3 separate regions of the Homo sapiens genome follow, and regions 1 and 2 are each linked to region 3. The links are contacts of gene promoters, found by promoter capture Hi-C in blood cells and fetal thymus (Javierre and others, 2016). All regions are on one chromosome and are shown on one strand. Each heading gives the region's core, a stretch centred on a gene start or on the middle of the fragment in contact. The rest is flanking DNA. Distances are from core to core; before and after follow the strand shown. Region 1 overlaps PIGN (phosphatidylinositol glycan anchor biosynthesis class N). Region 2 overlaps RELCH (RAB11 binding and LisH domain, coiled-coil and HEAT repeat containing). Region 3 holds the start of PMAIP1 (phorbol-12-myristate-13-acetate-induced protein 1).

Region 1 (4,224 bases), core at 269-2,768, 2.3 Mb after region 3:
ATGAAAGATATAAGACTATAATTTTCTTTTCTTATATCTTTCTGTGGTTTTGGTATCAGACAATGAGTTGGGAAATGCTGTTCCTTCTTGTACTTTTTGGAAGAGTTTGTGTAAAATTTGTATTATTTCTTCCTTTATCGAATAACAAAATTCACCAATGAAACCACTGGCTTGGGGTTTTCTTTGTGACAAGGTTTTCAACCATATATCCAATGTCTTCACATATATAGATACAGATAAACACATATAGATATTCAGGTTATCTATTACTTCTTAAGTAAGCTTTCGTAGTTTTTAAGGAATTTATCCATTTGTCCATTTCATCCTAACTGTCAAATTTATTGACTAAAATTGTCCATAATATTTACCTATTATCCCTTTTTCCTGTCCTGCAGTCCAGGATCCAGTCTAAGGGCAAGTATCACATTAGTTATTCAAAATAAGTCATTTTTCAAGTACTTAATTCCTTTCAGTTAGATCTTAAATTCTATCCAGAGCTAAAGTACATATGGCATATTTAGATTTACAGATGTTCACTTTGATTTAAACACCTCCTCTTTATCATGGAAATAAATCTTAGTACTCTAATATGTACTTACACATATGTACTTAACTTAGTACTCTAATAATGTACTTAACTTATAAGTACATTAAGATGTATTTGTAAATGCAAATGTGCATTTGTAAATGCAAATGTATATTTGTAAATTGTAAATGTAAATGCAAATGTATATTTGCATTTACAAATAACTCCCTGGGCTCATGTTCTTTCTTGTCCCATTTGCCACTGCACTGCTTTGCTAAGTTAAGTATCAAAGTTTATGTGTTAAAAGATAATATAAATTTTCCAAGGTTTACTGAAGTAACAAAACATTTTATTTCAGAACTTTGACCATCTTAAAGTTATAATAGCCAACACAAAAATCTAGTTCTGTTACATAATAAGAGTGGATTCTAGTAAAGCCACTGTTACTGTTTCCTTATCCATAAAAAAAGACACTGTCAGCCCTACTCCATTACAGAAGTATTATGGGAAATAAGTAGACTCCCCAATGACACCATACGAACACAAAATATTAGCAATACTAAAAATAACTAGATTGTGAAGCAACCCAACTCATATTTTTAAAATCAACCTGTAAATAGTTGACTTTACATTATGCTGAAGAAAGCAATAGAAGAGACAAAGATATATTTTCCTGCCAAATTGGTAATTAAGATTGGGACTTCTTATTGGTGATCCAAATCATGCAAATAAACTCTGTAAATAACAAGCATTTTGACAATAACTCTATTCAGCCATTTATTAGGTTACGGTCTACAAAATTTTAAAACGCAACTTGGTGTCTATTCTGTTTATTTATTTTTGAGACAGTAGCCTCACTCTGCCACCCAGGCTGGAGTGCAACAGCACAATTTCCGAGCCTCAGACAATCCTCCCACCTCAGCCTCCCTAGTAGCCGGGACCACAAGGTGTGCCACTACACCTGGCTAATTTTATTTTACTTTTTCTAGAGACTGGGTCTCACTGTGTCACCCAGGCTGGTCTTGAACTCCTGGGCTGAAGCAATCCTCTCACCTCAGCCTCCCAAAAAGTGCTGGGATTACATGTGTAAGCCATTGCACCCAGCCTTGGTGTCTATTTTGGATGCACTTGGAGATCATGTCCTTAGCGGATTCTGGCATTAGGTACATTACTAAAATTACCCAAACTTTGTATTTCTTACCTGTAAAATGCAGATAATACTGATGAACTATAAAAATGGTTGTGAGGATTAGAATAAACGTATGTCAAGTACCTAGCCCAACACTTGGCACTCAGTAAATGATAACACTTCAGTTTTGCTTCACAAAGATAAATTAAACATTATGAAATAAGAATAGTCATATGGTCACTAAATTCTGCCAATTCAACCACCTAATTAATTCTCTCCCTTCATCCTTTCCAATTGGAACACAAGGAAGAGCAACAAATAGGTGGCAAAAGCTAAAAAGCCTTCCATAATTTCACTATTAAAACTGATCATTTCTCGGCCGGGTGCGGTGGCTTACGCCTGTAATCTCAGCACTTTGGGAGGCCAAGGAGGGCAGATCACGAAGTCAAGAGTTCGAGACCAGCCTGACCAATGTGGTGAAACCCCATCTCTACTAAAAATACAAAAATTAGCTGGGCATGGTGGCGGGCACCTGTAATCCCAGCTACTCAGGAGGCTGAGGCAGGAAAATCACTTGAATCTGGGAGGCGGAGTTTACAGTGAACCAAGATCATGCCACTGCACTCCAGCCTGGGCGACAAAGCGAGACTCCAACTCAAAAAAAAAAAAAAACTGATCATTTCTCATCTTCTCATTGTCTGCCTTAGAAACACTTCCATGGTAGCTCCTAGTTCACTGCTGTAATTACTTACTTTTTCAGTTTTACATACCAAATTATATGATCTTTTAGACACACTCCCATTCACTTCTATATTCACAACATTCTTCCACTTGTGACTGACCCATTAATAGCTCCTTAGTAAATGTTTATTGCCTATATGAAGAAATGGCATATTATAAAGCAAAGGCAATTGAGTCAAACTTTGAGTTCACAAAAGAACAAGCTGAAGGCCAGAGACATGAAGTGAGGTCTCAGCTCATACTGTTATTTAATATGCAGCAGTAAAAATCTAATTAGGCGAGATGAATGAGTAAACAATTATAAAGACTTAACTACCATCATAGACACATTTACTTTTAACCATTGCATTATCCAATAGAAGCTTATATTATTCATATTTTCTCTGATCCTATTAAATTCCCAATATTATTAATTAATTAAATCGGTTAAATTAATGCTAATGCATTATTTTTAAAAGTGGTTTAGGTAAGCACAATATTTTTAAAAACATACATAGCAACTAGCTGAACAGAAAAATGAATGTCCTATACAATTACTTAGTTCCTATAAAAATCATGGCTATGAGACAATGAGACCATTTTTAAACTGTCATGCAATTCAATCCCCTCCCCCTCAAAAAAGCTTTTAAGAGGATCTGAAAACAACTCCCCTAATCAAATTAATAAAATTTCTTGATTACAGACTCACAGTGTTCACTACTAAACATGAATGACATAAACATTATATATATTAGATATATATTATAAATATATATTTTTATATATAATAAATATATATATTTAATATATCTAATATATATAATGTTTATGTCATTATATATATAAAACTCAGTGTCCAGTTGAGTTTTGTTTTCAAAGGAACTCGTGTTTTCACTTCTCCACATTCACTGCCATCACCTAAGTCCATTATTTTTCACCTGGACCTCTTCAACAACTTCCAAATGGTTTCCCTACCAAACTGCAGAAAACTACACAATGTAAGTTTCTCCCTTCATCTAAAGTAATTACATATTTTACTCTACAAATTGTAGAACATTTCACTTGTTCACTATACTTCATTCTAATTGTTCTTCAGGAATTTTATACACAGGTACTGACCCCAAAACTCAGATTAAAGGTTAAAACTCTTTAACCCATTCCCCATAAAATTTCCATTTTCTTCCCTTTCAATGTAAATTAGATTACATCTTTTCCCTTCTTAAAGTCTGTGAGTAGCTTTCCATTGTTCCAAGAGTAATATCCTGTGTTCTTCCACTACCTCCGTGGCCCTGCATACCTCTCTCACCTCATTATGGCATCCCACCTTGGGCTCCCAAAGTGCTGGGATTACAGGTGTAAGCCACCACACCCGGCCAAATGCATGTTTCTAATATGTATCCTCAGACTAGAATATAAGCTAGAATGAAGGCAATGACTGTGTTTCTGTTCACTCATGCTCACCACCTAACGGCATAGTGCAGTCACTTTATGATTCATTGGTGGAATGAGTATATATTTGAACTTTATTTATTTTCCCCCAGTTCACTAAAAAGTACAGTTAATGTAGCATCAAGTCAAAGAGAAATTTTACTTATTTTGGGGAATATGGCAGGAAGAGAGCTAATAAAAAGTCCTTGAAAGCTTCTAAAATTCCCCCTAGGTATCTTAGGAACCATCATTAGCTAATTAATCTTTCAATTAGGAAGTACAGGCTCTATTGTCTCAAATTTCAGATAAAGAAAAGGTAAGAAATGAACAAGAAGTTTCAGGCAATTTTTATTTTTAAATAACTTATTTAATGAGATATATAACTAGGCTATAAAAGAGTATCTAAAATTCCAGAAAGGAA
Region 2 (4,273 bases), core at 96-2,595, 2.3 Mb after region 3:
TGCATTATACATTTTTATACTTTCTTGAAATAACTAGAGTCTTATGATCAAATATCACAATTAAATATTCATGTGCACCTGTGCTTTTCTATTATCCTCATTTATTTGTACCTGTTTTAGGTACTGGATATATAAGTGTTTGTGTTTGTCTCTATGTGTGTGTGTACACATCAAGTTTATTAAATTTTTACTTAATACTAAGCAAATGAACAACAGGACAAAAAATTCAAAATTATCCATAATCCCACCAATGGTATTTGCTTTTCCTGTCTTTAATGGTAGTTGCCTTACCTGTCTTTTCTGTGCATGTGTTTTAAAAAACAAAAAATGGATTAAACTGTTTAACATAGTCTTATACAGGCACTATACTTTTTAGCATCAACTTGGATGTAAAATTTGCATACAGTAAAATTTACACGTTTTAAGTGTGTGCAGTTTGGTGAGTTTTGACAAATCAGTCACTACCACAATTAAAATACAGAACATCGGCAGGGTGCAGTGGCTCACGCCCGTAATCCCAACACTTTGGGAGGATGAGGCAGCCAGATCACGAGGTCAGGATTTCGAGACCAGCCTGGCCAACATGGTGAAACCCCTTCTCTACTAAAAATACAAAAATTAGCTAGGCGTGGTGGTGGGCACCTGTAATCCCAGCTACACGGGAGACTGAGGCAGGAGAATTGCTTGAACCCAGGAGGCAGAGGTTACAGTGAGCCGAGATCCCACCACTGCAGTCCAGCCTGGGCGACAGAGCAAGACTCCATCTCAAAAATAAATAAATAAATAAAAGTAAATAAAATAAAATACAGAACATTTTTATTATCCCCAGAATTCCTTCATTCAATATCCTTACTTCCATCTAGACCACCACTGATCACTTAGAACAGAATTTCTCAACCTGGGCCTGGGTACTTTCAACATTTTGGGCCTGGTAATGCTTTGCCGTGGCTGCTGGCCTGTGTATTATAAAATGTTTAACAGCATCCCTGACCTCTACCCACCAGATGCCTTTAGCAACCACCCCCATACCTATGCCACCCCAGTTATGACCACCAAAAATGTCTCCAGCATTGCCCAGGGAAGGGGAGGGCATAATTGCCCCAGTTGAGAACTACGTCTTTAGATAAGTTTTGCCTGTTCTAAAATTCGATATAAATAGAATCATAGAACGTATTTTTTTGTGTATCTGCCTTCAGCATGTTTTTAAAAGTCATCTATGTCTTTGTGTGTATTTCTAGATCATTCCTTTTTGGTTTTATCCCCAAAAGGGGGGGATAAAAAATTTGTGTCTTTTAAGACATTTGTGTTTTTTCCAGTTTTGTGTTATTGTAAAGAAAGCTCCCATTTACGTCTTTATGAGAAACTGCCAAACTGTTTTCCAAAATGGACCATTTAAAATTTCCACCACCAATGTACAAGAGTTCCAGTTTCTGTACATCTCCTAAACATTTGGTATTTTTGGGCTTTTTAATCTGTCATTTTAGTGAGAATGTAGCAGTGTCTCATTGTGGCTTTAATTTCTATTTCCCTGATGACTAATGATTCTGAGGTCCTTTTCCTGTGCCTTTTGCTTAGTATATTTTTTATGAAATGCCTATTCAATCTTTTGCACCGTTTTTTTCACCTTCAACTTCCAGGGTACATGTGCAGGGTGTGCAGATTGGTGACATAGGTAGACATGTGTCATGGTGGTTTTCTGCACAGATTAACCCATCACCTAGGTATTATGCCCAGCACGCATTAGCTATTTTTCCTGATACTCTCCCCCTCACCCACCATGTCCATGTGTTCTCACTGTTCAGCTCCTACTTATATATGAGAACATACGGTGTTTGGTTTTCTGTTTCTGTGTTAGTTTGCTGAGGATAATGGCTTCCAGCTCCATCTATGTGCCTGCAAAGGACATGATCCTGTTGCTTTTTATGGCTGGCTGCATAGTATTCCATGGTGTGCATGTATCACATTTTCTTTATCCAGTCTTTCATTGATGGGCATTTGGGTTGATTCCCATGTCTTTCCTATTGTGAATAGTGCTGCAATGAAGATACACATGCCTGTATCTTTATAATAGAATGATTTACATTCCTTTGGGCATATACCCAGTAATGGGATTGCTGGGTCAAATGGTATTTCTGGTTCTAGATCTTAGAGGAATCACCACGCTGTCTTCCACAATGGTTTAACTAATTTACAGTCCCAGCAACAGTGTAAAAGTGTTCCTATTTCTCTGCAACCTCTCCAGCATCTGTTGTTTCTTGACTTTTTAATAATCACCATTCTGACTGGCCTAAGATGGTATTTCATTGTGGTTTTGATTTGCATTTCTCTAATGATCAGTGATGTTGAGCCTTTTTTCATATGCTTGTTGCCGCATGAATGTCTTCTTTTGAGAAATGTCCATTCGTGTCCTTTGCCCACTTTTTAATGGGATTGTTTTTTCTTGTAAATTTGTTTAAATTCCTTGTAGACTCTGGATGTTAGACCTTTATCAGATGTATAGGTTGCAAACATTTTCTCCCATTCTGTAGGTTGTCTGTTCACTCTGATAGTTTATTTTGCTGTGCAGAAGCTCTTAAGTTTAATTAGATCCCATTTGCCAATTTTTGCTTTTGTTGCAATTGCTTTTGGCATTTTTGGCATGAAATATTTGCCCGTGCCTATGTCCTGAATGGTATTGCCTAGATTTTCTTCAAGGGTTTTCATAGTTTTGGGTTCTACATTTAAGTCTTTAATCCACCTTGAGTTAATTTTTGTATAAGTTGTAAGGAAGGAGTCCAGTGTCGATTTTCTGCATATGGCTAGCCAGTTCTCCCAGCATTTTATTAAATAAGGAATTCTTTCCCCTTTGCTTGTTTTTGTCATGTATGTCAAAGATCAGATGGTTGTAAGTATCCAGTCTTATTTCTGAATGCTCTCTTCTGTTCTGTTGGTCCGTGTCTGTTTTTGTACCAGTACCATGCTGTTTTGGTTACTGTAACCTTGTAGTATAGTCTGAAGTGAGGTAGCATGATGTCTCCAGCTTTGTTCTTTTTGCTGAGGATTGTCTTGGCTATACGGGCTCTTTTTTGGTTCCATATGAATTTTAAAAGTTTTTTCTAATTCTATGAAGAATGTCAATGGTAGTTAAATGGGAATAGCATTGAATCTATAAATTACTTTGGGCAGTATAGCCATTTTCATGATATTGATTCTTCTTATCCATGAGCATCCATTTATTGTGTTCTCTCTATTTCCTTTAACAGTGGTTTGTAGTTCTCCTTGAAGAGGTGCTTCACTTCCTTTGTTAGCTGCGTTCCTAGGTATTTTATTCTCTTCATAGCATTTATGAATGGGAGTTCATTCATGATTTAGCTCTCTGCTTGTCTGTTGTTGGTGTGTAGGAATCCCTGTGATATTTGCACATTAATTTTGTATCCTGAGACTTTGCTGTAGTTGCCTATCAGCTTAAGAAGCTTTTGGGCTGAGACAGTGGGGTTTTCTAGATACAGGATTGTGTCATCTGCAAAGACAATTTAACTTCCTCGCCTCCTATTTGAATACCCTTTATTTCTTCCTCTTGCATGATCCCTGGCCAGAACTTCCAATACCATGTTGAATAGGAGTGGGGAGAGAGGGCATCCTTGTCTTGTGCCAGTTTTCAAGGGGATTGCTTCCAGCTTTTGCCCATTCAGTATGATATTGGCTGTGGGTTTGTCATATATGGCTCTTATTATTTTGAGGTATGTTCTTTCATTACCTAGTATATTGAGAGTTTTTAACATAAAGGAATGTTGAATTTTATCAAAGGCCTTTTCTGTATCTATTGAGATAATCATGTGGTTTTTGTCTTTAGTTCTGTTTATGTGATGAATTACATTACTGATTTGTGTATGTTGAACCAATCTTGCAACTCAGGGATGAAGCCAACTTGATTGTAGTGAATAAACTTTTTGACGTGCTGCTGGCTTCGATTTGCCAGTATTTTATTGAGGATTTTTGCATTGATGTTCATCAGGGATAGTATTTTGCCCTTTTTTAAATTAAGGTTTTTTACATGTTGGTTTTGTTTCATTATTGAGTTGTAAGAGTTCTCTATATGTGCATTATCAAATGTGAATTTTGCAAATATTTTCTTCCAGTCTGATTTCCCTTTATTTTCTTAATGATGTGTCTCAGACCAGGCGTAGTGGCTCACACCTGTAATCCCAGCACTTTGGGAGGATGAGGTGAGCAGATGGCTTGAGCCCAGGAGTTTGAGACCAGCCTGGGCAACATGACAAAACTCCGTCACTAC
Region 3 (3,943 bases), core at 902-3,401:
TTTTTTTTTTTTGGTGGTTGTTGAGTATATTCTCTGCATTTCAGGGTGCGTATTTGAACGACAGAAATTTAATAATTTATGCAACCAAAAAGTTAACGGTGTTCCTTATGTATTAGGTAAGTCAAAATGAGCCTGGAGTGGTTTTGAATTACCACTTGGGGATAATAGATTTCAAGGCAGCATCTCCAGTGTGCTTCCTGCGTCTTGTGATGATTCCTAAATTCTGTCCACTTTTACTCGTTTGTATATACCCCATTCAAAAACAGCCAACATCAGCCTCGAAACTATGTTGTTTAAACTCAAGAGCAGTTTTGTTCCATGCTTATATTGTTGTCCATACCTTCAGCAGGACCAAGCCATAAATAAATACTTGCTGGTTTGTGTTGACTGAATGATTTAAGATAAATAAACAACCTCAAATGCCTACTGAGGCCAGATAATGTAAATGGGAAAAGCAAACAGCGGGGAGTGTGGTGAACAGGAGCACCCTAGGTTCCTCTAAAGGGTGTGGCTTCGACCACACTTCAAACCTAGTTTGCACTTTTGGAAAATGGATCCCACGTTGTCAGAGATTCTGGTTTTCCAAGAGATGCTGGAATCTGGGTTTTTCATGCAATCCCTCAATGTTTAAAATGTTGGTAATCAATTCAAATTTTTACAATACATTTTGAAGGCCAATACTGTAAACCAAACTAAGCACTTCTAGGGAGCCCATGCAACGAATTTGCAATCTTTTCATTAAACAGCACAGCTAATATGAAAACACGCTTTTTTTTTCTTTTTCTTTTTTGAGACAGAGTCTTATTCCGTCACCCAGGCTGGAATGCAGTGGCGCGATCTCGGCTCACTGCAACCTCCGCCTCCCAGGTTCAAGCGATTCTCGTGCCTCAGCCGCCCAAGCAACTGGGACGACAGGCGTGCACCACCAAGGCCGGCTAATCTTTTGTATTTCAGTAGAGACGGGGTTTCACCATATTGGCAAGGCTGGTCTCGAACTCCTGGCCTCAAACGAACCACCCGCCTCGGCCTCCCAAAGAGCTGGGATTACAGGCGTGAGCCACCGCGTTCGGCGAAAACACACATTTTCTAAGAAACTGATTGCTGGGAAGGCTACAGTGGGTAAGAGCTCTTGCTCTCTGTGGGCCTGCCTGGTTCGGAATCAGGGCAGTGCTCTCTGCCTAAGTGAACTTGGGCAATTTTCTACAAACCTCAGTTTCTGCACCCGTAAAGTAGCAACGGTTGTTCTGAGGACGGAATGAGAAAATGCATGTCAAAGTCCTTAGCATGAAGCGGCTCTCAGTAACCGTTAACCACTCCTAATTACTCCTCTTCATAATAGTAGAATTACTCATGGCCTCGCCAAACATTATGCAAATAATTTCACGTTCCCAGGTAGCTCAGCCCTCCCACAAAAGATTTGAACGTTTTCCATATGATAACGATCCACTCGTTTTTGCTAAACATCCACAATGGGCGATATCGACCTATCTGGAAGGACACACACAAATCCCTTCCCAACTCAAACACGATGTTCTTTCTGGCTGGCACCAGGGCTTCTGTTTGCAGTGACTTCCTGGGACCCGGAGCTTTCTCACAGGGCCTCTGGCATCTCCTCTGCGGTGATTAAGGTTCTTCTCATTTCCCTTCCCTGTTACTGCCCATACTCTTCAAGTTCGAAAAGTTTCCTTTTCCAATCTCTTTTCTGGGCTTGTTTACCCAAGTCTCTAATTGCCAAGGCCTCTGGTCTCTCCCCACCCACAACGTTCCTCCTGGTTAAACCCTTCCCCTCCCGCCACTCCCAGCTCCCGCCACTCCCAGCTCCCGCCACCACTGCCGCTGACGACGTCCAGCGTTTGCAGATGGTCAAAGCCGACCCCCTTCTCCTCCCACCTCGTTTTGTAAGGAAGTAATTTCGGGGCCGAGCGCTCTGCGCCCCCCGCCGCGGGTCGGCGCCGCCGCGGGTCGGGAGCGTGTCCGGGCAGGTCGCGCTCAGCGGGGTACTTCCCCGCCCGCGTCCCGCGTCCGCTCCCATAACGCCGTCTGCGGGGCGGGGACAGGGGCGGGGACAGGGGCGGGCCGGGCGTCTAGTTTCCCTACGTCACCAGGGAAGTTCTCACTGGACAAAAGCGTGGTCTCTGGCGCGGGGATCTCAGAGTTTCCCGGGCACTCACCGTGTGTAGTTGGCATCTCCGCGCGTCCGGACACCCGATCCCAGCATCCCTGCCTGCAGGACTGTTCGTGTTCAGCTCGCGTCCTGCAGCTGTCCGAGGTGCTCCAGTTGGAGGCTGAGGTTCCCGGGCTCTGTAGCTGAGTGGGCGGCGGCACCGGCGGAGATGCCTGGGAAGAAGGCGCGCAAGAACGCTCAACCGAGCCCCGCGCGGGCTCCAGCAGGTACCGACCCGCTGGGGCCAGCGAAGACCCAGGCCGGGCGGGGTCGGGGCCGGGGTCGAGGTCTCGGCTGGGGCGGGCTCAGCTCGCCGGGGCTCAAGCACAGACTGCACGGGGGTCAAGGTCGGGCCAGGTCTGTGCCCTGGCGCGAGCCTTAGGGGCGCCTCCAGAAAGTTCTTCGGGGTTTTTCCCCAGGACCGGCGGGTACGGCGGGTACGGCGAGGGACCAAGCCGGATTTGCGATTGGGATGCAGCTGCGTTTCACCAGGGGCAAAAAGCTCCTTTCCTCCTCTCTTTCCTCCTCGCCACTTGCCCTTCCCCGGGGCCACGAGGAACAAGTGCAAGTGTAGGCGGCTGTCTCTAGGAGAAAGTCATTGTCGCGGCAGAAGGGGCAGGAGAGAGCCCCGGGGACCGCCTGGACTCCCAGCGCTTCCAGAGACGGCCCCACAAGGGCCCCTGTGTTCAGGAGCCTAGAAAATCTTGTAACATTTAAATAATCGATATTGTGGGAGGTGGGGATAGGAGAATAGGAGTTAGTCCGCTCCTTTTTTTCATTCATTCATTCGCACTCCCCACCCCGATACATACAGCTCCATCGTAAGTTTTCAGGCCAGCGCCCCGGCCCCATGCTTTTTCTAAATCTAAACAGAGAACCCAGTCACTGCCCAGAGCCCGAAGTCTGTGTGGGCCATACTGCTGTTGCATCAGACGATTATACGCCCCCCCCACCTTTTAAGTTACTTTCATTTTATAGAGCTCCTGGGGCGTGCGAAGGAAGTGGTGCATTGCAAATGTGACCATGCCTAAGTTGGTAACAGGCTGCTGTCTCTGGCGCTTGTGTGGGATGGAAAAAGCTTTGTCTACCTTTTGTGATGTCTTAGGATTCTGACCTTGTTTCTTTCTGAAGGATCTTACTTATGCATAGCACTTTCTGGTCCGACTTAATTCCCAAGAACAGGAAGCAGCACAAAGTCCCTCTTAAACTTGATTTGATTGATACTAATACATTTATAGGTGTGTAATGCAATTTTTAAAAAATTAAGGAAATGACCGGGAAGTATTTTCTGCCTTGTTTTCTACATTTTTGGTGAAAGGGATAACTTTTCCACTTAGAATTCAGGGCTTCCAGTGTCGGACGCTGAATGGTATTTGGTTTTTCTTTTAGAACTGTATATTAATATATCTCAATCTCTGTAGACAACATGTCTATGTAAATACTTCCCAACATATTTGATCTTGTAGCCCATAAAGAATAACACCTTAAGGGATTTATTAGGTCTCTTGGTGTAGGAGTTAGGAAAGATTTCACTCACTTCTTGTAGAGAGAAATTGGTTGAAATATAGGTTTAAGATTTTGCTTTACTATATATTGACAGCTTTGATTTATTTTGAGCCTAAATACGGTATTTTCAGGGTCGATTTATAAAATAGACCAGATTTTAATTTGTAATCATGATTTTTTAATGTTTGTAATCATGAAGTGTACCCGAAAGACCTCAAGCTGCTCTTTGAAATATTCAAGAAAATTGAAATTATAGTCAGTATAGATACGATA

Evidence for each region. Contacts are between HindIII fragments. The CHiCAGO score rates a contact against its expected background, and 5 or more counts as called.
Region 1: a fragment that was not itself captured here is called in contact with the fragment with the promoter of PMAIP1 in region 3 in 1 of 17 cell types (naive CD8 T cells); the score reaches 8.4 in naive CD8 T cells.
Region 2: a contact is called between a fragment that was not itself captured here and the fragment with the promoter of PMAIP1 in region 3, in 1 of 17 cell types (naive CD8 T cells). The highest score is 6.6, in naive CD8 T cells.

What each region holds. Positions count from the first base shown.
Region 1 is chr18:62,171,902-62,176,125 of GRCh38, forward strand. All of the region lies in intron 1 of PIGN (phosphatidylinositol glycan anchor biosynthesis class N), which reads right to left. Among named protein-coding and RNA genes, the nearest start is that of PIGN, 13 kb to the right of the region's middle. The HindIII fragment of the contact is 2,476 bases long and covers 281-2,756 here.
Region 2 is chr18:62,189,810-62,194,082 of GRCh38, forward strand. The region is part of intron 1 of RELCH (RAB11 binding and LisH domain, coiled-coil and HEAT repeat containing); the gene reads left to right. Among named protein-coding and RNA genes, the nearest start is that of RELCH, 4.7 kb to the left of the region's middle. The HindIII fragment of the contact is 4,209 bases long and covers 1-3,450 here.
Region 3 is chr18:59,897,845-59,901,787 of GRCh38, forward strand. It overlaps PMAIP1 (phorbol-12-myristate-13-acetate-induced protein 1), which reads left to right and starts at 2,152. Exons shown (of 2, transcript NM_021127.3): 1 at 2,152-2,391. The coding sequence starts at 2,334. RefSeq lists an enhancer at 1,241-1,992 and silencers at 1,749-2,158, 2,309-2,518. The HindIII fragment of the contact is 10,069 bases long and covers 1-3,240 here.